Regions from separate parts of the Homo sapiens genome. Here regions 2, 3, 4, 5, 6 and 7 are each linked to region 1. The links are contacts of gene promoters, found by promoter capture Hi-C in blood cells and fetal thymus (Javierre and others, 2016). All regions are on one chromosome and are shown on one strand. Each heading gives the region's core, a stretch centred on a gene start or on the middle of the fragment in contact. The rest is flanking DNA. Distances are from core to core; before and after follow the strand shown.

Region 1 (3,304 bases), core at 805-3,304:
GCTCCCCCTTCCCTCTCCCTCTTTCATTTGCTTTTCCAGTTTCCTTTGTGTAGAAATCAGATTGTCTGTCCTCTAAAGCTTCCCAGATTAAAGCTCCCCGGGGCCCTCTATCTCTGCACGTCTTGTCAACTGTACGAAGGTGTGGTTTTCTACAAGAATCCTCCTCAGACAGCACTGCATACTTTCTATGGTATCACATCAAAGATAATTTTTCACGAAAAAACGGCTTTTAAAAATACCTGTGGAGATTTGGCCTTATTTGTAATATCGTAATTTAAATAGGGATGTGTTCAGGTATTATACATAATTAAAATTAATCTCCAATTCACTTTTAACAGGTCCTCTGTTCATTAAAAGGGAATATGGCTTCATCCTCCACAGGCTGAGTAATGTTCATGCAGCCACTGCGCAATACCAGTGAGACTAGTTAGGAGGACAAGAGTCACCAAATCAGCAACAACGTGACCCAGTGGTGCAAGTCTTCCGAATCCCACGCTACCATCCCAGCACCCCGTGGACCAAGAGTGGGTGGGAGGGCATCATTTCCAGAACTGTAACATAGATCTTCCTGCCTCTCGGGGGCATTCTGAAGACCAGAAGGCAGGGGACACAGGAAAAGGAACTGAGCAAGTCATGACGAAGCAGAACCCTGGGAAGGGTTGGCAATAACAAACACAACCCCTGCCACCCCCACCCCAGACAGGTTCTACCTGTTCCATCGGGTCCCAATTCCAGGGTCCACCAGCTGCACACACCAGTCCCAGGGCTAGGGCACAGGCACCCTCCTGCCTAACTCGCCTGCTTGCTCCATAGGCCATACCTTTTAGGAGAAATGAAGGGAATGCAGAGAAGCAACACAACAAAGACCTCCGCATAGAGGAAGGTGGCAACTGCAGTCCACTGCAGACTCATCCTGTTGCTAGAAGGTTTCCCACAGGAAGATGTGAGCTTGTTTCCTGGCAGGGCACAAAAGGTACGGGACTTGTAAGCGCTGGGCAGCCAAGAACATCCAGTTCAGTTACCCTGCGAGGCTGGGGCCGCCACTCTCCACCCTGACCCCCTGCACTTTGCTTCAAAGTCTCTGATGCGCTGGCGGAAGCAGGGCTCCACTCGGCAGGGCCTCTTGGCCAGCAGCGTTCACAGGCCCCACAAACTTCCGTTCGCTGGTCAATTACCTGCCCCCTCCAGCACGTGTGTCAACACGTCCAGAGCGGCCTCTCCCGACGATCCCTGCCCCAGGAAGCCCGAGATTTCCGACGCCCGTTTAACTGAAAGGCGTTCTTCGGGAAGAGCAGTGCCAGGGCACCAAGAGGAGGACGCCTCGGCACCCATCGGGCGCTCCCTTCCCCGCCAGGCAGAACTCAGCCGCAGAGGCGGGCGCTCTGCGGGCCCAAATCCCCGCTACCAGGCAGGCCCAAGGCCGCACCTAGTCCAAGCGCTGCCGACGCCCCCGCCTCCCACCGTCCCCACGGCGCCCGCGGAGAGAAACCGGCACCTCCCTCGAGGATCCAGCGGCCTTCCGCCCGGGGCCGCTTCGCCTCCGGTGGGCTGGAGGCCCGCAAGAGCGACTCCTAGAGGGCAGGATTCGGGACCAAGCGCAAAGGCAGGTCTCGACCAAGCACCTCAAGGCCCCATACGGAGAAAGTTCTAGACGCAGTATCCTCAGAAGCCAGGGGTCCTTACAGTAGCCCTCGCGGGCCCCAGCGCCCACCCAGAGCGAGGGGCCTCCGACTTGGCCCCGGCCTGGCACACCGTCCCGGAGGCCCATCCCGGCCGCTCCTCCAGGTGGGGCTTCACCGCCCCCCGCCCCGCCCCCGAGACCAGCTTCTAGAGGCGCCGCCCGGTTTCCCCTCGCCCCTGCCTCTCACACGCAGGTAGGCTGCGGGCCCCGAGATTCCCCGGCCCCCGGGCCTCCCCGCGCCGCTCGCCTCTCTCCCTCGTCGATGGGCCGGGGAGCCTCCGCGGTCCCGGAGCCCAGCCCGGCGCGCGGAGCCCGCTCACCGAGTTTCCCACAGTCAACGTGCAGGCCCCGCCGCAGCAACAGAACTCTCCCACAGCAGCCCCGGCCCCGCCCCTCATACCGCGGCCGGAAACCGGAAGCGCCCGCCGGGCACCGCCCACCAGCCCTCGCGAGGCCCCGGAGGCTCCGCCCACCTCCGCTTCCCACCCCGCCCCGGAGCGGAGGGCCGGCGCTCCGAGCGGGAGAGGAAGAGGCGCCTCGGGCTCCGGGCGAGCAGGGCGGGGTGGAGCGAGCACGCGGGCGGGGCGGGGCGGGGCTTTGTCGGGCCGGCGAGGGCCGCTTCTCTAGTCCGCGCGGCCGTCCCACGTCTCTGTGGTGCGGGAGGGGCCCCGCCGAGGGGCGAGAACGGGAGGTGGGGGTGTGGGCGGGCCCCGCCGAGGGGCGAGAACAGGGTGGGGCTCCCGCGCCCGGACTCCGCCCCTCGCCCCTCCTCCGCCTCCTCCCCTTCCCCCGACTCGCCCCTGGGGAAGAGTGGGTGGGGATTCTGGGCCGGTGGAGGAGTCACTGTCGCTTCAGCCAGGCTGCGGAGCGGACGGACGCGCCTGGTGCCCCGGGGAGGGGCGCCACCGGGGGAGGAGGAGGAGGAGAAGGTGGAGAGGAAGAGACGCCCCCTCTGCCCGAGACCTCTCAAGGCCCTGACCTCAGGGGCCAGGGCACTGACAGGACAGGAGAGCCAAGTTCCTCCACTTGGGCTGCCCGAAGAGGCCGCGACCCTGGAGGGCCCTGAGCCCACCGCACCAGGGGCCCCAGCACCACCCCGGGGGCCTAAAGCGACAGTCTCAGGGGCCATCGCAAGGTTTCCAGTTGCCTAGACAACAGGCCCAGGGTCAGAGCAACAATCCTTCCAGCCACCTGCCTCAACTGCTGCCCCAGGCACCAGCCCCAGTCCCTACGCGGCAGCCAGCCCAGGTGACATGCCGGTGCTCTCCAGGCCCCGGCCCTGGCGGGGGAACACGCTGAAGCGCACGGCCGTGCTCCTGGCCCTCGCGGCCTATGGAGCCCACAAAGTCTACCCCTTGGTGCGCCAGTGCCTGGCCCCGGCCAGGGGTCTTCAGGCGCCCGCCGGGGAGCCCACGCAGGAGGCCTCCGGGGTCGCGGCGGCCAAAGCTGGCATGAACCGGGTATTCCTGCAGCGGCTCCTGTGGCTCCTGCGGCTGCTGTTCCCCCGGGTCCTGTGCCGGGAGACGGGGCTGCTGGCCCTGCACTCGGCCGCCTTGGTGAGCCGCACCTTCCTGTCGGTGTATGTGGCCCGCCTGGACGGAAGGCTGGCCCGCTGCATCGTCC
Region 2 (3,304 bases), core at 805-3,304, 820 kb after region 1:
AGTTCTGATCAGAAGTACAAAGGTGTCAAGGAGTAGGTTTGACAAAGTGTGACAGCGCGTTGTTCTATGTGAACAAAGAACCACTGAGCTCAGCCAGCACTGAGGGGCGCACGATGTGGAAGAACTAACTAGTTTTGATAGAGCTCCTGCTCAAGGTTACAAGGTAAGTTAATGGCAAAGATGGTCATACAGTAATGAGCAGAGAGATTCTTGAGTGCATCCAGGGTTAAAAGTGAAAACTGAGACCACGTGTAATTTGAGATGAAGCCCTTGTTCCACCAGCCCCTGCACAGTCTCACTGCCCCATGGGACACAGGGGAGGGTGCTCTAGTCTCGGGCGATGGCTGTCCTAGGACCACCCCTCCCTCCCCTCCCATGGAAATCCTCATGCTATACTATTCTTTTGTCTTTCCTATGAGTGCAGAATGGCGGTTCTACAAGCTGGACAATTGGGGCCAGGTGGGGTGAGGCAGAGCTCCTTGGTAGGCTTTCGAAATTGAGGCAAAGAGACAGTGTTCAAAGAAAAGCTAAGTGTTTGTATCGACGGAACTTGAAGTGTTAGTGAAGAGGCAGAGATCAGGCCTCAGATCCTGCCTTTGGAACTCATTTGTTAAGGCATGAACAGGTCTGAAAAAACTACAGAATGAATAGCATTCCCTGTTTTCCCCAAGAAGTCCATCTAGACAGTCCCTAAAGAGCCTGCAACTCCAGGATTAAGGGCTACATTCAGCGGCTAGGCACAGGGTTCAGAAACGTCCTGCAGCCGGGCGTGGTGGCTCATGCCTGTCATCCCAGCACTTTGGGAGGCCGAGGCGGGCGGATCACTTGAGGTCAGGAGTTTGAGACCAGCCTGGTCAACATGGTGAAACTCCGTCTCTACTAACAATACAAAAATTAGCCGGGTGTGGTGGTGCATGCCTGTAATCTCAGCTACTTGGGGGGCTGAGGCAGGAGAATCGCTTGAACCCAGGAGGCCGAGGTTGCAGTGAGCCAAGATGGCGCCACTGCACCCCATCCTGGGCGACCAGAGCAAAACTCCGTCTCCAAAAAAAAAAAAAAAAAAAAGTCTTGCAAGTGCATATGCACACCAGGTAGAGCCGGGATGATCCTGGCGCACTAGCAGGAGCGGGAGGAGGAGCTCAACTTAGCAGAGCCTGTGGGGCCCTGCAACAATTAGTTGGAAAAGCTGAGGCATGGAGCAGGCACTTCCTGGCTTTTAAGATTGGGGCCTGGGAGATACTCACCGATGCACCCATGATGATGAATATGTGTGTATCCGACTGATGGAAGGCATCGCCCTGGAAAAGCTCTTCCCGCAGGATCCCGCACACCTGGGTCCGGCTCAGGGCCACCTGCTCTGCCATGACGCTGTCTGGTGGAAGAAAGGCTCGTTAACAAGGCAGAAGAACAGGAGAGCATTGAGAAGTTAGCCCCTTTCTTGAGAGTTCCTCTGGGGTCTCACACCAGGGTGACACCTGATTGCCCAAATCACTCCTTGTGAACGGCTGGGCATTGGGGAGTGGTTGATGGGTTAGAAACTGCTGGCTCTGGGCTCCAGCCACTCTCTCCTAGGCAGCCTTCATTCAGGGTGTACATTACAAAATTACTCAAAGCATTGGTGTATTCCGACTACAGCATCAATTCTGGACAACCGAGTAAAATCCTTGTGGGGCATGGAACTGCGTGCCCAGGACCATCTCATTCCCGACTGTAGCGGGAACTCCACAATGACCTGGAGCATGGGAGATGGTGCAGATGCTGGAGTTCAGCTCCAGCCCTCCCCTTGCCAAGCTGGGTGACCCCGGTCGGCAAGTCCCCTTCGCTCTCGGGGTCTCAGGGGCTCAAGAGAGGAGGTGCGGGGTATAAAGGGATTGGTTAAGACCCTCTCGATTCTGCTCGGTTCTCAAGCACAACAAACAGCGTGTATTTTACCGCCGCGCGGCGCAGCGCGGGACAGTACGCTCCTCCGCCTGCGCGGCGCCCGCCCGGCCGGTTACCTGCGCTTCGTCGTCGTCGCCCTCCGCGCTCGCAGCCCCGAAGTGTACGACCGTTTCCGGGGGCTGAGCCCCGCCGGCCCATTTAATCGGCGGGGGCGGGGGCGGGCGCCTGGGCTGAGCGGACCCGCCTCAGGCGAGGCGTGCGGGGCGGGGCCTCGGCCACCACCCCTCGTGCGGGCGGGGCGGGGCGAGGGCAGGTGCGCGCGCATCCCAGGCCAGCCCCTGCCTCTCGGGCACCTGCGCTGGAGGCCGGCCCGCCGGCTGCCTGCCATACCCGCTGCCGCTGCTCTGCATCCCCAATTCCGGCGGGCACGGGTGCAGCTCCGCGTAGTGCTCCCGCATCCCCATCGCCGGCCCGGCCCCGCCCCTACTGTCCGGTTTCCCCGCCTGCCCCGGCGGCCTCGCGCGCTCGCGGAGGGCTCCACTTCCGCCGGCAGCGTGGCCACGCCTCCTCTGGGCTGTCCCTCGGCTCCTGGGCGGGGCCTTCTGCCGCGCCACTCCCCCGGGAACCCTCGCCTGTTCGCGGGTCAAGCCGGCCCTATTGGGCAGTCTCTTCTTGATTCCTCCCCCGGAGAGGGCGGGGCGGCCGAGCGCCCCGAGGCTAGACGCCGCCGTCCGAGAGACGAGGGGGCGTGTAGGCGGTGACGCCCTGCAAAGTGGCCGGCGTGCTTATCATTACCGAGCTTCCGCGGGCCTGCAGAGCCTGGCGGACTCAGACTTCTCTCCGGAGCGGGATGCGGCCCTACCGCGGCCTCACACTTCTCGCCGGCTTCCCGAGTTCTCGGGGGCGGGGCTTGTGTTTTTACTTCCGGATCCCACAGCTATGACACCGGAAGCCGGAAGCGTGGTAGGGAAGGGCGACCGCGAAACTGGGACTTTCTCGGAGCGCCGGGGCCCTACCAGCGTTCACAGTCCGCCGCTCCCACCCTTCTCACGTCTGACGGACTCTGCTGACAGGTGTGGTCCTTTTCCCCAAAGACAGGGTTCCATCCGTGGGCGTTCCGCCGCCTCCGAAACTTCCCCCGGACGTTCAGGCTCCCCCCTCTTTTTTGGGCCCCAGCCCGTTCCTGCTCCGCGCTTCTGGAGCACTGGCCAAGGCGGGCCGATTCAGGACCCAGGTTACTTGGGCGGCGAGCTGGACTGTTTCTACTCCTCCCTCCTCCTCCACTGCGGGGTCTGACCCTACTCCTTGTGTGAGGACTCCTCTAGTTCAGAGACATATTCTGTTCACCAAACTTGACTGCGCTCTATCGAGGTCGTTAAATTCTTCGGAAATGCCTCACATATAGTTTGGCAGCTAGGTATCT
Region 3 (3,304 bases), core at 596-3,095, 790 kb after region 1:
GCGCGCACCACCGTGCCTGGCTAATTTTTTTTTTTGAGACAGAGTCTTGCTCTGTTGCCCAGACTGAAGTGCAGTGGCGTGATCTTGGCTCACTGCAAGCTCCGCCTCCCGGTTACACGCCATTCTCCTGCCTCAGCCTCCCTGGTAGCTGGGACTACAGGCGCCCGCCACCACGCCCGGCTAATTTTTTTGTATTTTTAGTAAAGACGGGGTTTCACCATGTTAGCCAGGATGGTCTTGATCTCCAGACCTCGTGATCCGCCCGCCTCGGCCTCCCAAAGTGCTGGGATTACAGGTGTGAGCCACCGCACCCGGCCATGCCTGGCTAATTTTTGTATTTTTAGTAGAGACGGGGTTTCACCATCTTGGCCAGACTGGTCTCGAACTCTTGACCTCAGGTGATCCACCCGCCTTGGCCTCCCAAAGTGTTGAGATTACAGGCGTGAGCCACTGCGCCCAGCTGTCTTTACTTTTTTGAGACGGAGTCTCGCTCTGTCGCCCAGGCTGGAGTTATGCGGTGGCGCAATCTCGGCTCACTGCAACCTCAGCCTCCCGGGTAGCTGGGATTACAGGCACCCGCCACCACGCCAGGCTCATTTTTTTGTATTTTTTTAGTAGAGATGAGGATTCACCATGTTGGCCAGGCTGGTCTCGAACTCCTGACTTCAAGTGATCCTCCCACCTCGGCCTCCCAAAGTGCTAGGATTACAGGCGTGAGCCACCGCGCCCGGCCTGTAGTGTGTTTTTAGATGATGTCATCTACTCCTAGCTCTTTAATTAAGCACCATGTGTCAATGACTTTCTATTTTCTAGTTCCAGCCGTGGCCTCTCTTGAAACCACTCCCTGCCAGCTGGTTCCTCAGTGGCCAGCTCCACCTGGATATGTCCACAAAGTTACCACCTTAGCAAGTCTGAAGTCCAATTCCCGAGTTGTTTCTACTCTCCACCCAGCCCCAACCTATCCCTCCCCAAGGATCTTCATCTTACTTGTCCAGGTGACAGTAGGGCTGTCATCGGGTTCATGTCGAAGCCCACAGCCACTTTTGTCACTTCCCCTCTAAGACCACGCCTCTCCACCTGGACTGCCCACCTCCTCTCTCTCACCACTCATTTTCCAAAAAGCAGCTGGTCTGCTACCTGCGTTGGGAGATACTGACTATACTAATCCTCATGTCATAGCTCGGGGAGCTGACGTCCTCAGAGGTGAAAGGATTTGGTTAAGGTCAAGGAACGAGTGTTTGTGCAGAGTCCTCCATTTCCAAAACCAAACCCAGTGGTTCACCCGGGCCTCTCCAGACACAGATGTCGCGACGCTGGGCCTCCAGCCAGGTGCCCTTTTCAACTCCCTCCCGTTCGCTGTGGAAGCCACCCACCTGCCAACCTCATGTCCACTTCTCCTGCTGGGTTGGGACCGCCGGCAAGTGCACTGTTTGGGGGCAAAGCGGAAGGACAGGTTTGGGTGGGGGTCAGGGGCAAGCCTGTGCGGGACCCCTGCTGGGGGCGGGCGCGATCGGTGCTACGACCTGTTTGTCCAGCCGCCCGGCCAGGCAGGGCTCCTCGGAAACGCGCGGGGAAACCCTGCCTGGCCAGGAGGGGCCTCAGGAACCCGTTGGCTCACGATCTTGCCCACAGGAGCCTCCGGGGCTGGGACGAAGATGTGGTTCTCCTGGGCTCGGGCCGTTCCTCCGGGCCTGGGGGCTGGCGATGCGGGCCGGGCCGGAGATTTCTCTGGCCGTGGGGAGACGTGGGCTCGGTCAGGGAGGTTCCCTGTCAGGCCCGCCGACCCGCTCCGCCCCGGGAGAGGACGCAAGGCCGCTGCGCAGGGTGGCCAGGCAGGCCCGGCAATGGCGGCTAAGGGCGGGGCCACAGCCCGCCGGCCCCGCCCCCGGCAGCAGCTGCGCCGTCTGGCTCCACGCAGGCCCCGCCTCCAGACCCGCCTCTACCGCTCGCGCTGGCCGCCGCATGGGAGGGGCCTGAACCTGTCCCGCCCCGAACCTGTCCCGCCCCTGGATCCCTCGTCGGCCCCACCTCCGCAGTGCGTTCAGGCTGAACCCACCGGCCGCCGAGTGGGAGGGGCCCACGTCGGTCCCGCCCCGGAAGTCTCCCCTCGGCCCTTTCTCGGGTGGGAGAGCCCTGCCTACCCAGGCTTAGAGGGCTGGGGCTGCGCTTGCACCCTGAGGTCAGATTTGTGAGTCGTGGGAAGACGCAGATGGATCTGGGGCAGAATTAGAACCTGTTCCAAAGTTGATCCATGCGCTTTGTAAAGGCAAGGGAGGTACAGAGGCGCAGATAGGGAAGACCGCAGGATCCAGCGTGAGCCTCTGGCTGCCTTTCCTTAGGGTCTGTTTTCTGTCCAGAAGCGCGTTCCTGCTGTCTCTCGTTATCACTTTTATAATGGGACGGGGCGTCTCAAACTATTTCGACATCCTTGAAAACTCTTGCCTGCTCCGCCTGCCTGGTCTCTAACACCCTCCTCCTCAGAGCTGCTCAAGCTGTGTTGTTTACGCCACACCCCACCCTAAAAGCAGAGGAGAATACAACTTTCGGGGGCAGTGGAGGGGGGAGTTTAGCGCTATAACCCGAGGCTTTCACAGCAAACCAGAATTTATTTTGAGGCCTCTCAGGTTCAGCTTTCAAGTCACGTGACTTTCGCGTCCTACACAACTCTTATTTTCACTTGAAAACAAGTGTGACGTCGTGAATTCCCTAACAATAGGAAAAAAGAAGGCTCCAGAAAGAGCGGTGCTTGGCTTTCCCAGCGGCTCCAAATGGTGCCCGGCACCCAGCTGGCTGTATGGACCTGGGGTGGTCTCCGGCCGCAGGCAGACGCGGCCCTTCGGCCTTTCTCCAGTCACCCCAATTCTCCCTGACTGCCTGGCTATCTCCCCTCCGCGCCTGCCCGCACGCTGCCCCCAACACTGCCCGGGCTCCCTCTGCCCATGAGAACACGGGTCAAGCTCCCGTCCCTTCTGCCCTGCCGGCTGCCCCAAGTGCGCCCTGACCACCTACTGCGCTGGCATGGCCGGGGCCACCCTGACAGCTGATCCATCATCTGTCTGGAGAGCAGCAGCAGGGCCCAATGAGAACCACGGAAACCTCCCTGCCCTTTGACCCAACTTACGGGAATCTCCTACCCTTAGGGAAACAATGCAAAATATAGAGAAAGTTTATAGAGCCGGGCATGGGAGAGCCCTGGTTAGAATCCAGCAGCTTCTATACTGGAGTACTCAACAGGGTCAAGGTCCCTTTCAGCTGCCTGCTGCTGGGGCCAGGGCTTTGCATTTGCGTTTTGTCATGGAATTTG
Region 4 (3,304 bases), core at 578-3,077, 770 kb before region 1:
TCCACTGTTTCCATCATTTCAGACGACTGGGGATGATAAGGACAATGTAATTTGGGGGATAAAGGAAGAACTCATTATATTTCTTGGATGACTTTACTGGGGAAATGGATTCCTTAGTCATTTGAAAGAAGCGGTAGAATTCCACATGTGGGGAATACTTGTTCTAACAAAAGCTTAATAACATTAGTGGCAATGATCCTTTTATATAAGGGAAAGCTTCAAGCCAGTGAGAAAAACATAAATAAACTAGTAAGAACATATTTATAACCATGAGATTTGGGTGCAGAATAAAATCAAATTGGCAGTTCAGGAAAGGTCCTAAACATCTGTATATTAACAATATTCCATCAGTGAGCAATGTGAATTTCCCATAATTGAAATGATGATTGATAACCTTGTATTGTTCTTATCTAATATAAGGCAAAGCAGCACTGGGGCTTTGATAAAGAGCAATATCTCATGTACACTGAGGACACTGAAACCCCGCTAGGAATTCTATGGAATTTCTAAAATATTTATATTAAGGACATTTTACCCATTATAGACTAATTTAGGGAAGGTTCTGCATTTTTTTTTTGATTTGACAATGTTTCCAATGCAATTTATACAATATTAAATAAGACTAATTAGTTTTTGCACCTTTCTTGTTACAAGGTGAAAGAACTAATCCTTTGAGATTTTCCAGAAGGTCCCTGGCAAATCCCAAAGCCAGTTTTAGGTATAAAATATATTTAAGTTTTGATTGTGGGAAGGCAAATGTTAAGAGTTGTCAGGAGTTCTCGAACATTTGATTGAATAGCATTATGGGTTAGCGAGAAATACTACTTGGTTAGCTAGTGAATCAGAGTTGTAAAAATTTTCAAGTAAACATATGAGGTAACATGGTTGTAAAGAATCTTCAGTTCCTTTAAAATTGAAAAGACTTTAAAAAAATAACTAAGGACATAATAAACTGAACATACAGATAGGGCATTACAGTATTTTGATAAGACATAAAATCTTTGCCTCTTAGGCAGATGACTCAGAAGAAAAACAGACCATTTATAACTTTTTATTAGGGACAGACCAATGATCAAGAATTTTTTTTTTTTTTTTTTGAGATGGAGTCTTGCTCTGTTGCCCAGGCTGGAGTGCAGTCGCGCGATCACCATGTTGGCCAGGCTGGTCTCGAACTCCTGACCTCAGGTGAACTGCCCACCTCAGCCTCCCAAAGTGCTGGGATTACAGGCGTGAGCCACTGCACCTAGCCTAAGAAAATTTTGTTATTTTAACAGAGAAACCAACATTTTAATTTTATACAAGTATAATATTTGATATTAGTTCTTTTTTGAAAATCTTATAAATACACTGAATAAAAGTTTTAACCATGACAAATAAAATTCCTTTTCTGTGAACATTTTCTAATTTTAAAGATATTTGTTTACATTTTGTCTCACACATTTTTAAATTATTTGTCATTTTAATTTGGGACAAAGCTATTCTCTTTTTCCTTAGGAAAAGCATATTTGCATACAAAGTTGTTTCCCTTTGCCATTTTTGCCATTATTACTTTTAGCAGTTTATATATATATATACACACACACTTATTTACTTATTATAATTTTAACCATTAATAACTTCTCTTTCACAGAGAAAACAGGAGGTAGGTAATTTTGAAATATCATATACCAGCATTTTGTAGCAGACTAGTAAAGCTTATGAATATACATCTCATAACTTTTTATAGTTGTTATATACTTTTTATAGTACCATTTTGCAATGTGGACAAATGAACACATTTAACAGATCCATATGTAGTCACACTGTACCATAAAAAAAGCAAAAAGTATATAAACTTAAATTTAGGTCTAGTGACTAAGTATTTTATCTTCTTTATAAATGATATTTAATGAATTTAGTTAACTTAATTCAGCATAAGTCTAAGGTTTTAAGTTACCAAAAAGATTTTAGAAACTGCCTTTAAGCTTACATATTATAAAACATAATTACTGTTGAAATAAAGTTTGCCAGAATAATGACTCAGTTTGGTTAAAAGCAAATTTAAATTTTTATAATCTTAAACATGTAGTAGATATAATACTAGCTTATTCAACATGTAAACCTGTTTAAGTTTAGGAGGAACATACCCAAGTAGAGTAAAAATATATGCTTGTATTCTGTTGTATTATATGTAATGCTGATAACTCAAAGACACATAGGTGTCTATTAAACTAACAATATTAAACTAGTTTTGTTTGCCAAAAGTTTACATAAATTCTGTGAACTTGAGTTTTAAAAGCATTTGGGTTAGTTTTTATAAGAATACTTTTTTGTTGTTTACACTGAAAGTATTAGAAGTTGTTTCCTTAATTTATGAGAGCTTTATAATAATTTATATAAGTACTTATTTATCTCTAAGTCAATTAGAATAGAGGATAAGGGATTTTGTAAATTAATTTGGTAATGCCATCTGGAGGTACTGAACTATTACACATATACAACATACATGTATACTAAACATACAGACAGACACAAATAGAGATCTAATGGCGAGCCCTCAATGGGTGCAGGGGGCCTGAAGCTCTACTGGCTATAGGCAGTTGAGAGGGCTGAGTGGGAAGGGGAAAGCCTGGTGAAGAGTAGATAGGGGTATGTAGGAGGTAGAGGCATTGAAGGGGACAGATGAAAAGATTCAGGGAGCTGAAGGGAAGGTCCAAGGTGGTGAAAAGAAGGGAAGAGGGATGCGGTAGGAAGATGAGAAGGGGGAATCTTAGATGAGCAGGTTTGGGGAGACCCCAGGTTCCCTAATAAGGTCACTGAAGTTCCAAATTACCCTTCGTGATTACTTTTTTTTTTTTTTTTTGCCAGTTTTGGAAATACTGGACAGAATGAGTGCCATAGGGGCAGGGCATGTAGTCAGCAAGGGAGGAGGAGGAGGATGAGGAGGAGGAAGGGCACCCAGTAGATTGAGAGTTACCTGTGGGAAGAGGCAGATCAAATAGAGAAAGGAGCCAGGCTGGACAGTCTCATTAGGAAGTTCTGCACACAGTCGTCATCTGGGAGCCAAAGTTTCTCTTCAGTCCTCATTGAGGAGCTGAAGGGCTTTCCTTGTGCAATCTCTAGACAAGGTGTCAAGGGAAACAATGAGGCCTCACAAAAGAGCCAGGAATTTGGAGTAAATCTCCACTCAAAAGGAACCAAGAAAACTTCTATCCAGGACGATTCTGGCTAAAATTGAAAAGGACCAGGAAGAGTCCTGCTCAACAGAGTCAGGGGTTAAATCCCCACTCAAAAAGAGCTAGGAAGAGTTCTGTCTGCGAAGATT
Region 5 (3,304 bases), core at 562-3,061, 760 kb after region 1:
AAGCGGCTGGCCAACCGTTCGATGTCGTCCAGCGTCAGGCGACTCAGGGACCTCTCGTAATCCTGGGGAGAGAAGGGCAGGAAGATTCAGGGGCTGCCAGTGGTGGGGGGGCATACACTGCAACAGAGGTAGGGGCTGGGAGCAACTGGGCCTGAAGAGGATGCCCAGGGTTACCCTTCTCACCCTCTGTAGCTGTTCCAGGACCCTGCTGGCATCTGCCGCACTGAAGTGGCGGGCCAAGACTTTGGAGATCAGCTGCCAGACCTGCGGGGGTGGGGAGTCGGCCAGCCTCTGGGCCTCGCCTTCTTCTAGTAGCACCTTCTCCAGGGGTTTGACCACTAGGTTGAGCTTGGAGTTGGGCCCGATGCTATAATCCGAGAGTCGTTTCCCATCTGCCAAAGACAGATCGATGGGTTCCTCCTCCTCCACCGCCGTGGGGGTGGCCCGGGGCGCGAGGCCGCCTCGGGCGGCGGGAGCGGAGCGCTGCGGCATCCGGCTGTGAGGCATGCGGCCGCCTCCCTTGGGGTCATGTGGCGCTTGGCGCCCGCACCCCGACCCGACACACGGCTGCTGGCCTCGGCCCGCGCACCCCGGTCCCGCTTCCTGCGGGGCTCCCCGGGCGTCTCCTCTCCCTGGGTACCTGCCAGGGCCTTGCCCTTGAACAGCAGCCGCTGCTGGCGCACTGGGACGTTCAGCTTCTCGGAGACCAGCTGCTTCAGCGTGGACACCAGCTCGTCCTCTGGCACCTGGCCGCGCGGAGGGTGGGAGGCAAGGGTTGAGCCCGCGGCCCCCAGACGGCGAAGCCCACGCGTCCGCCCCCGAGGGCAGCTCTCCCGGCTCCCGGCCCTCGGCCCGGCCGCCCCGTGCCCGCCCTCGGCCCTGCCGGTCCCCCTGCCAGGAGCGGGCGAGAGAGCGCGCCGGACCCGGCGGCCCGGCCCGGGGACCCTACCTGCAGGCTGCACTCGCGGCCCTGCAGCGCCTTCACCGTCAGCTGCATGGCGGTCGCGACGGCGTCCACTCGGGCCGGCGCGCACCCCAACCACCCCCCGCCGCGCGCCGCCGCCCCGGGCGCGCGCTGGAACCGCCCGCCGCCGCCGGAAGCAGCGAGAGGGGCGCGCCCGCCGCCCGCGCTTCCCGGCCCCGCCCTCCTGCCCCGTCCGCGCCCCGGCCCCGCCCCCCGGCCCAATTGCGCCCCGGGAGGAGTCCCCCCGGGGTCCCGCCTAGCATGCGCGCATCGACCGCCCTGGCCGGCGGACCCCTCCCAAAGCAACGACGCGGGGGAGTTGGGAGCAGGAACCAGTCGGGCCAGGTTGGCGTCATCTGGGAGCTGGGACATGGAGAAGGGAGGGCCAGAAGGTACGCTCGCCCCCGCGGACTGCCTGGCCCACCTCACGCGCCAGGACTGCTGGCGGCGCCTGGCCCTGCATACCCACAGACGGCCCGCCCCCGCTCCCTGTCTGGTGGCTTCCTACCTCCTCCTTTCTGGTCTGGCTGCGAAACGCTCCACTGAGCTTGAGAGGGGGCAGGGGGGCTACGCCTCTGCCCTCATCCTCCCACCTCTCCCAGAGTGGGGACACCCCCGGGGAGGGCTGATAGGGAAAGCCTATGCAGGGGTCACCGTGTCACCCAAGCTGGCCCTCCACCCTGGTCCACACTTACCCAGCACACTCTTTCTACCCCCACGCCCAGGCCCCAAAGGGCAAAGAGTAGAAGGGACCCAAGCTTGCTTCTCTCTTTTATTGAAATATATTTTCTGGGCAGCGCCCACCTACCTAACTCAGCATGGCCTCTTTGGCACTGAAAGCTGGAGAATAAAAAATCAGTAAAAAAAATAAGCCTGGATTTTTCTGAGTGCATAGTGCATGAGAACTTTGGTGGAGTGTGGGGGCTGGGGCTGATGAAAGCTTGACCCAGAGGCCTCAGGGAACTGGGAACAGGCTGCTGTAGATGAAGTGGCCAATGACCAAGGCCAGCATCTCGGAGGTGCCGCTCAGCGCCACAATGAAGGGGGCCTGGGAGGCATAGTCAGCTTGAAGGCGGCGGAGGGATAGCTGCAGCATGGCCAAGGCCAGCAGGCTGTTCTGCACCCCTACCTCAATGCTGACCGTCCGCCGCTGGGCCACTGGCAGCTTCAGACACGTGGCTAGGCAGTAGCCCACCAACAGGCCAACCAGGGGCACCGTGATACCCACCAGTACGATGGGTAGCCGGATGCCTGCCAGGATGAAGACCCCCATGCGATAGGCCAGGAAGAGGCCGCCCAGGAGGAGCACAAAGCTGAAGGGCTTGACGACCTGCAGCAGCAGCTGGGAGAACTTGGGGAGCTTGGACTTGATCAGCACGCCCACGGCTATGGGGATGGCAATGAACAGCAGGGTCCCCAGGATCTTGGAGATGGGCACGTGGAGCGTCTCATGGATGCTGAGCAGGCGGCTGTAGATGGCCGAAGACAGAGGCAAGAAGCCAGTGGCAGCCACCGTAGAGAGGAAAGTCATGGAGATGGCCAGGGTGACGTCCCCTCCAAGAAGGAGGCTGAAGAGGTAGCTCCCCCCGCCGCCAGGCGACGAGCAGGTGATGATGAGGCCCAGAGCCAGGGCCTTGGGCAGCATGAAGACCTTGGCCATGAGGAAAGCGTACAAGGGCATGACCAGAAACTGGCCCAGGAGGCCCAGCAGCATGGGCTGGGGGCTCTGCATGAGCCCCTTCAGAACCTCGAGTTCCACTTTGCACCCAAACGAACACTTGTTGACAAAGATAAGAGGCAGGAGCAGGTAGAGGATTGGGTTTTCCGAGAAGTGGGCCAGGTCGGCGCTGAGGGTGGCAGGCGTGTCTTCAGCAGGTGAGACCTTGATGCAGAAGTCTCTCCGCTCCTCAATCAGTGTGGGCGGGGCCTCATGGGCGTCCACGAGCTGGATGTGGAGTGGGGCCAGCCCAGCCAGGCCTGAGTGGATGCTCACCACAAAGCCACCCCCGCCTCCCCAGGTTATAGCACTCACGTTCTTGATGGTCAGCACCTCTGTGTCCAGGGAGGTGACCCTGAGCATGGGGCCAGGCGCCGTCCTGTTGGCCTGGCCTGGGTACTGGCTGGAGATCACGATGATGCCCTCACTGTCCTCAGGAAACTCAAACTCCATCACAGAGCCATCTCCAATGCTCAAGTAGCGGCCCCCAGTCGGTGGCACGGTGTGACCCCCAGCAGTGCTGAGGCTGGTGCTGGCTGTCCCTTGGGCCCCCCATGGCAGGCTGATGAGCAGCAGGGCAGCTCTGAGCATGCTTAAGGGACCTGTGCCACCACCCTCGCCCC
Region 6 (3,304 bases), core at 345-2,844, 750 kb before region 1:
TTTTGATCAGCACCTTGATGTTCCAGTTGGTCACTTAATCACTCAACAAGCATTGATTGGATGTCTACCCATGTGCCAGACGTGGGGGCCCCAGTAAAGTAGACACAGTTTGTATTTCTGTGGAGCTCACAGTGTAAGAGGAGAGGAGTAAATCAAACATCCCACAACAAAATACTGTTGTGATAAGTGCTCTGAACAAAACATACAGGGTATGTTTTGGAGACAGGGTCAAGGCCCTCACTGCAGCCTTGACCTATATGCTATAATATAGTGACCTACTCTGGGCTGCTTGGTTATCGGGGGAACCCGCCCCCAATATTTCAACGTAAGTTCTTTCTGTTTTCCATAAATGTCAGCCAGCTGAGAAATAGAAAGAGTACAAAGAGAGGAATTTTATAGCTGGGCCTCCGGGGGTGACATCACATATTGGTAGGACTGTGATGCCCACCTGAGCCACAAAACTAGTAAGTTTTTACTAAGGATTTCAAAAGGGGAGGGGGTGTACAAATGGGGAGTAGGTCACATGCTTTAAGGGGCAAAAAGCAGAACAAAGATCACATGCTTCTGAGGAAACAGAGCAAGGACAAAATCAGAACTCCTGATAGGGGTCTATGTTCAGCTGTGCATGTATTGTCTTGATAAACATCTTAACAGAAAACAGGGTTCAAGAGCAGAGAACCAGTCTGACCTCAAATTTACCAGGGCTGGGGGTTTCCCAATCCTAGTAAGCCTGAGGGTACTGCAGGAGACCAGGGCGTATTTCTATCCTTATCTCAACCTCATAAGACAGACACTCCCAGAGCGGCCGTTTATAGACCTCCCCCCCCAGGAATGCATTCCTTTCCCAGGGTCTTAATTATTAATATTCCTTGCTAGGAAGAGAATTTAGTGATATCTTCCCTACTTGCACACGTCTGTTTATAGGCTCTCTGCAAGAAGAAAAATATGGCTCTATTCTGCCCGACCCCACAGGCAGTCAGACCTTATGGTTGTCTTCCCTTGTTCCCTAAAAATCGCTGTTACTCTGTTCTTTTTCAAGGTGCACTGATTTCATATTGTTCAAACACACATGTTTTACAATCAGTTTGTACAGTTAACACAATAGTGGTTCTGAGTGGACCTGATGTATATTCTCAGCTTACGAAGATAACAGGATTAAGAGATTAAAGTAAAGACCGGCATAAGAAATTATAAAAGCATTAATTTTGGGAGCTGATAAATGTCCATACTAAAATGAAATCTTCACAATTTATGTTCCTCTGCTGTGGCTCCAGCCAGTCCCTCCGTTCAGGGTCTCTGACTTCCCGCAACATCTCTCCCTTTCTTTTTGAACATAACAGGATTAAGAGATTAAAGACAGGCATAAGAAATTATGAAAGTACTAATTTTGGGAACTGATAAATGTCCATGTTAAAATGAAATCTTCACAATTTGTGTTCCTCTGCCACGGCTCCAGCTGGTCTCTCCGTTCGGGGTCCCTGACTTCCCACAACACTTAGTCAGGGAAGCTTTTTTACATTTTTGTTTTTAGAGACAGATTTTTACTCTGTCACCCAGGCTGGAGAGCAGTGGCATGGTCGTAGCTCACTGCAACCTCAAACTCCTGGGCTCAAGCAGTTATCCAGGCTCAGCCACCTGAGTTGCTGAGACTACAGATGCACATACCACCACATCTAACAGAGAAGCTTTTCACAAGGACATGATATTTGGCTTTAGTATGAGTTTGCTATACAAAAGGAGGCTATCTTCCAGGCCCTCTTTAATGTTCCCCTGCACTCAGCTCCACCCCTCAAGGCTACTCACTTTCCTTGTACAGTGCATCAAGCCTTCTGTGGGGCACTGGGGATACATCAATGAGCAAGACAGACAATCTGTGAATTTGTGGAGTGACCATCTCATGGGGAGAAAGACAAAGCAACAATCCTATTTCAGTCGCAATAGCTAAAGGAGCACAGAGGTGTGTCACCTGGATTTCTGGGGCTAAGGATGGTATTCTGGGGGAGGTGACCTCTGAACTGAAACCTGAAGGATGAGAAAGAATCATTCATTCATTCATCCATTTAATAATTTAAATATTTCCTGAGCACCCACTGTGGGCCACACACTATAGTAGGCACTGAGGACACACCAGTGACAAATCAAAGACCCTGTCCTTCTGGTCAATGATAGGAAGCAGGTGCTAAATAAACATGAAAGTCTTTACTCTTTTTTCATTTTCTTTTGAACCCACTTCTTTGAGGCTCTCACCTCCACCATGGTACTAAAAATGCTAGTGCTAAGGTCCCCAATGACCACCACATTGCTAGACCCCATGCACACTTCTCAGGCCTCATTGACTGAGCAGCAGCGTTTGGTCCAGTGGACATGTATTAGTTTGTTTTCACACTGCTATAAAGAAATACCTGAGACTGGGTAATTTATAAAGGAAAGAGGTTTAATCGACTCACAGTTCCACATGGCTGGGAGGCCTCAGGAAACTTACAATCATGGCAGAAGGTGATGGGGATGCAGGCACCTTCTTCACAAGGCTGCAGGAGAGAGAAGTACAAGCAGGGGAAATGCCAACGCTTATAAAGCCATCACATCTCTGAGAAGTCACTATCACGAGAACAGCATGGGGGGAACTGCCCCCATTATCCAGTCACCTCCCTCTCTCAACATGTGGGAATTATGGCTCCCTCCCTTGACGTGTGGGGATTACAATTCGTGATTAGATTTGGATGGGGACACAGAGCCAAACCATATCAGGTCCATTCCCTTTGCTAGGCCTCTAGGCCCATTCTGCCTTTCCTTCCACCTCACTGGTCACTCCTTTTCTATCTCCATTGCTGGTTCTTTCTCATCATCCCATTCTCTCAACTTTGGAGTACTCTAGGACTTTGTTCTTAGACCCCTTCGCTTTTCTATCTGCACTCACTGCGTTGTATCACTGGGGTCCAGGCTTCAACAGATACAGTATACACTGCCTCCTTCTGGAATTGCAGCTGCTCCAGCCCACATCATCTTCCTGAACTTCAGACTTGTGTTTCAACTTCCCACAGCTCATTTCCACCTGGGGAGTCTAATTGTCATTTCATACTCAACCATGGAAGCCATGCTCTATGCATTGCCATCCACAGCTCCGTAAATGGCAGTCCCATTCTTCAGCTTGCATAGACCAAAACCTACACATCACCTGCTGATCTCCCACTGCACTTCCAGCCCATCAGCCTAGCCTGTTAACTCTCCCTGCCAAACAGATCCAGAGGCAAACCATTTCTCCCCACCTTCACCATAAACATATTGTCCCCTAATCCCCCATGTG
Region 7 (3,304 bases), core at 366-2,865, 730 kb after region 1:
GCCGAGATGGGCGGATCACAAGGTCAGGAGATCGAGACCATCCTGGCTAACACGGTGAAACCTCGTCTCTACCAAAAATACAAAAAAATTAGCCGGGCGTGGTGGCGAGTGCCTGTAGTCCCAGCTACTTGGGAGGCTGAGACAGGAGAATGGCGTGAACCCGGGAGGCGGAGCTTGCAGTGAGCCGAGGTCACACCACTGCACTCCAGCCTTGGCGACAGAGCAAGACTTTGTCTAAAAAAAAAAAAAAAAAAAAAAAAAATTCTCCTGCTTCAGCCTCCTGAGTAGCTGGGACTACAGGCATATGACACCATGTCCGGCTAATTTTTGTATTTTTTGTAGAGATGGGGTTTTGCCATGTTGGCCAGGCTGGTCTCGAACTCCTGACCTCAGGTGATCCGCTCACTTCAGCCTTCCAAAATGCTGGGATTACAGGCTTGAGTCACTGCACCCAGCATATGCCAGTACTTTGGAAGGCTGAGGCAGGAGGATTACTTAAGCCCAGGAGTTCAAGACTAGCCTGGGCAGTGTAGCAAGACCCTGTCTCTCTCTACAAGAATAGGAAAAGTTAGCCAGGCGTGGTGGCACTTGCCTGTGGTCCCAGCTACCTGGGAGGCTGAGGCAGGAGGATCCCTTGAGCCCAGGAAGTCGAGGCTGCAGTGAGCCATGATCCAATGCCGCTACACTGCAGCCTGGGTGATAGAGCGCGACCTCAACTTGGGGGGAAAAATCTGTCTATCTATCTATCTCTCCATATATGTGTTTAATAAAAATGGGCAAATGACTTGAATAGACATTTCTTCAGAGATCATATACAAAAGGCCAGCAAGCACATGAAAAGATGCTGAACACCATTAGTCATCAGGGAAATGAAAAAGAAAACCTTAACGGGGCGCGGTGGCTCACACCTGTAGTCCCAGCACTTTGGGAGGCTGAGGCGGGAGCATCGTTTGAGCCTGGGGCGGTCGAGGCTGCAGTGAGCTATGATCTCACCACTGCACTCCAGCCCGGGTGACAGAGCGAGACCCTGTGTCAAAAGAAAACAAAAAAAGAAAAGGAAAAAGAAAGCAAGGGAAGGAAGAAAGCCCTCGGTTCAGGGTCGCCGGGGAAGGGGCTGGTTTGGACGGCTGTCCCGCAGGCCCTCCGGGTTAGAGACCGTCGGGGGCGTGTCTTGAGCTGGGGACGCGACTCCTCGGCGGGGGTGCACCTGAGAGGCCGGGACCAGCGAGGCCGCGCCCCGGTGGCAGGTGACCCCGGGCGCGTCTCCGAGCGCCAGGGTGGGGCGAGGCGGACGCGCGCCCCAGGCCCGAGGGGGTGTGGCGCGGGCGCGCGCGGGTTCCGGGGTCGCCCGAGGCGGCGGGCGGGGAGCCGGGGCGCGGGGGAGGCGCGCGCCGCGGACGCGGCCATCGAGCGAAGGGGGTCGGCTGGCCGGGCGGGTCCCCCTTCAGGTCGCGGGGGTCAGGGCTGCGCGCGAGGTCCCTGGCCCCGGGGAGCAGCGGCCCCGCCTGCGTCCCCTGCCGCCGCGTCCCCCTCGGCCGGGCGTCCCCGGACGCCCCCGCCCCGCGCGGTGGTACGGTCCGGGTTTAAAAGGCTCCGGCGGCCCCCGGGCCAGCCCAGTGTGTGGGCGGCGGCGGCGGCGGCTGCGCGCTTGGGGCCCGGGGCGCGGGGCGAGGCCGTGGGGACGTGCGAGCGGGGCCGCGGTGGGGCTCGGGGGCGCGTCCACGTGGCCAGAGGGCGGCCACCCGGAGCCAGCGGAGGGACAGGTAGGTGGCCGTCATCGTCGCCGTCCGTGCGGGGCCAAACAGCTCGGGGCCCGGGGCTCCGGCAGCCCGGGGGTCCGGCTCGGCCTGTGGGGGTCAGGCCCTATCCCTGCCCGTCGGCGCCGGCCTGCCCGACTCCTTGTGCCCCGCATGGTGGGGACGCCAACCCAAGACCAACACCCTGCCCAAAGAGGACCCTTTGTCGCAGGGGAGCGGCCCCTCGGAGGATCAACGCTGTACTTCCCTCCCGCTAAGGGCTCCGCGAGTCCGCCGAGGGGTGCCCTGATGGGGCCCGGGCAAACCGGACCAGCAGCACGGTGGGGGGTGTGGGGGGCGGCCGCTGGACCCCCGTCTCTGCGTGGGGCTGCCCCTTCCTCAGGCTCTCTGCTGGCCCAGCTGTACCTGTGATGCCCGAGGTTGCCACTTACAGGTGGGGGCTGGGCCTGAAACTGCCTCCCCAGGTCTCCCTCCCGACCTGTCCCCAGCCTGTTCCTAGGCTTGTGTTCCCGGGGTGTAGAGGAGGTGAAGACAGGATGTGGCCTCTCTTTTCTTTGGCCTTCCTTTCTTCTCCGGCTGTTGCATGAGGGGTCCAGCTGACAAAAGAGCCCTGGAGAGGTGATCAATCTGAGCTGAAACTTTGCAGTTTCAAGCTGGGCCCGCTGCTTGTTCCTGGCAAATGCCTTATTTTTCCTTTCTCTCTCCTGTGCCTCCTTGGTTTGGTTCCCTGCACCACCCCCCGCTCCCCCCCCGCCTCCCGCCCTCAAGCTGGGTACCTCCTATCTCCCCCGGGAGCTCTGGCACTGAGAGGGTAGCGCTGAGCCCTGCCCTGTTGGCTGCCACGACACTGCTCTGCTGTCTTAGCAGCCTGGGGCTGACTGGGTGTGGCCTGGGGACTAAGTGCCAGTCCCAGCACTGTCCCTGTGGCTCCTGCCCTGTCTCTCCAAGGCCTTGACTGTATTTGGGGACATTGCTCCTCCTCTTGTAAGGCTCCTGGGACTCCAAAGGGCAGGTAGGGCCCCCTGTACATTCCCTTCTCCAGTGAACCCCTGGGTCTGGAGGGGGAGCCATGCAGGCTGTGGCTGAGCAGAGCTTGACTGATGTGTGTCTGGGTGCGTGGCTGAGGGGCAGGCGCGACTTGGCTTTGTGTTGCATCGGGGAGGCCAGACAGCGGGCTCCTGGATGGCCAGCTGAGGCCCTTGTCGGGGAGGCAGCTGGGGCCCCTGCAGGGGACATGGTGGTGCTGGATCCTGCATCAGGCCTCCATTCCCCAGACCTCTGTCCCAGGGCTCCTGGTGGCAGTGCCACTCCAGGTGGTGTTCCTGGCCCTGCCCCTCTCCCCCAGCTTGCGATTATTCTGTGCCTGCCTCCCTCTCCCCTCAGCTCAGGCGTTGGGGGCAGCCCAGAGGCCTGGGGCTTGCTGTTCTTTGCTGTTGGTTGCCCCGGGCTCTGAGATGTGGCATCTGGGGTCCCAGTTCCAGCATCTGCTCTGCTACCCCCTTGGGTGTGGCCCAGCTGAGGCGAGGCCTCCTGGCTCCTTTCCAGCA

The links. The method cuts DNA at HindIII sites, captures the fragments that hold promoters and counts their contacts. A CHiCAGO score of 5 or more calls a contact.
Region 2: the fragment with the promoter of G6PD here is called in contact with the fragment with the promoter of BCAP31 in region 1 in 10 of 17 cell types (activated CD4 T cells, monocytes, naive B cells and 7 more); the score reaches 11.6 in activated CD4 T cells.
Region 3: a contact is called between the fragment with the promoter of FAM3A here and the fragment with the promoter of BCAP31 in region 1, in 4 of 17 cell types (non-activated CD4 T cells, naive B cells, naive CD4 T cells and 1 more). The highest score is 8.1, in non-activated CD4 T cells.
Region 4: a contact is called between a fragment that was not itself captured here and the fragment with the promoter of BCAP31 in region 1, in 9 of 17 cell types (total CD8 T cells, total B cells, erythroblasts and 6 more). The highest score is 13.7, in total CD8 T cells.
Region 5: a fragment that was not itself captured here is called in contact with the fragment with the promoter of BCAP31 in region 1 in 5 of 17 cell types (naive B cells, fetal thymus, total B cells and 2 more); the score reaches 7.7 in naive B cells.
Region 6: a contact is called between a fragment that was not itself captured here and the fragment with the promoter of BCAP31 in region 1, in 7 of 17 cell types (naive CD8 T cells, activated CD4 T cells, total B cells and 4 more). The highest score is 9.3, in naive CD8 T cells.
Region 7: the fragment with the promoter of PLXNA3 here is called in contact with the fragment with the promoter of BCAP31 in region 1 in 6 of 17 cell types (total CD4 T cells, naive CD8 T cells, erythroblasts and 3 more); the score reaches 8.1 in total CD4 T cells.

Annotation. Positions count from the first base shown.
Region 1 is chrX:153,722,333-153,725,636 of GRCh38, forward strand. BCAP31 (B cell receptor associated protein 31) reads right to left here and starts at 2,055. Exons shown (of 8, transcript NM_001256447.2): 1 at 2,002-2,055; 2 at 821-956. The coding sequence starts at 912. It overlaps ABCD1 (ATP binding cassette subfamily D member 1), which reads left to right and starts at 2,524. Exons shown (of 10, transcript NM_000033.4): 1 at 2,524-3,304. The coding sequence starts at 2,935. RefSeq lists silencers at 1,334-1,513, 1,724-2,683 and an enhancer at 3,144-3,304. The HindIII fragment of the contact is 9,880 bases long and covers 77-3,304 here.
Region 2 is chrX:154,544,792-154,548,095 of GRCh38, forward strand. G6PD (glucose-6-phosphate dehydrogenase) reads right to left here and starts at 2,055. Exons shown (of 13, transcript NM_001360016.2): 1 at 1,998-2,055; 2 at 1,245-1,372. The coding sequence starts at 1,364. It overlaps IKBKG (inhibitor of nuclear factor kappa B kinase regulatory subunit gamma), which reads left to right and starts at 2,829. Exons shown (of 10, transcript NM_001099857.5): 1 at 2,829-2,954. RefSeq lists enhancers at 1,091-1,634, 2,937-3,216 and a silencer at 1,937-2,496. The HindIII fragment of the contact is 7,888 bases long and covers 1-3,304 here.
Region 3 is chrX:154,514,387-154,517,690 of GRCh38, forward strand. FAM3A (FAM3 metabolism regulating signaling molecule A) reads right to left here and starts at 1,846. Exons shown (of 9, transcript NM_021806.4): 1 at 1,374-1,846. The coding sequence starts at 1,386. It overlaps LOC124905229 (a long non-coding RNA gene), which reads left to right and starts at 1,094. Exons shown (of 2, transcript XR_007068357.1): 1 at 1,094-1,329. RefSeq lists enhancers at 1,114-1,737, 1,738-2,360 and silencers at 1,711-2,120, 2,336-2,492. The HindIII fragment of the contact is 19,151 bases long and covers 1-3,304 here.
Region 4 is chrX:152,950,007-152,953,310 of GRCh38, forward strand. All of the region lies in intron 18 of ZNF185 (zinc finger protein 185 with LIM domain), which reads left to right. Among named protein-coding and RNA genes, the nearest start is that of PNMA5, 42 kb to the right of the region's middle. The HindIII fragment of the contact is 270 bases long and covers 1,693-1,962 here.
Region 5 is chrX:154,485,588-154,488,891 of GRCh38, forward strand. UBL4A (ubiquitin like 4A) reads right to left here and starts at 1,028. Exons shown (of 4, transcript NM_014235.5): 1 at 950-1,028; 2 at 641-746; 3 at 184-392; 4 at 1-62. The coding sequence starts at 997. SLC10A3 (solute carrier family 10 member 3) reads right to left here. Exons shown (of 2, transcript NM_019848.5): 2 at 1,724-3,304. The coding sequence ends at 1,920. RefSeq lists enhancers at 1-475, 476-1,234, 1,572-1,631 and silencers at 412-561, 1,052-1,311. The HindIII fragment of the contact is 182 bases long and covers 1,721-1,902 here.
Region 6 is chrX:152,976,009-152,979,312 of GRCh38, forward strand. No RefSeq gene overlaps it. Among named protein-coding and RNA genes, the nearest start is that of PNMA5, 16 kb to the right of the region's middle. The HindIII fragment of the contact is 177 bases long and covers 1,507-1,683 here.
Region 7 is chrX:154,456,666-154,459,969 of GRCh38, forward strand. PLXNA3 (plexin A3) reads left to right here and starts at 1,616. Exons shown (of 33, transcript NM_017514.5): 1 at 1,616-1,763. RefSeq lists enhancers at 1,024-1,093, 2,519-3,071 and silencers at 1,184-1,353, 1,484-1,723, 1,964-2,033. The HindIII fragment of the contact is 19,869 bases long and covers 1-3,304 here.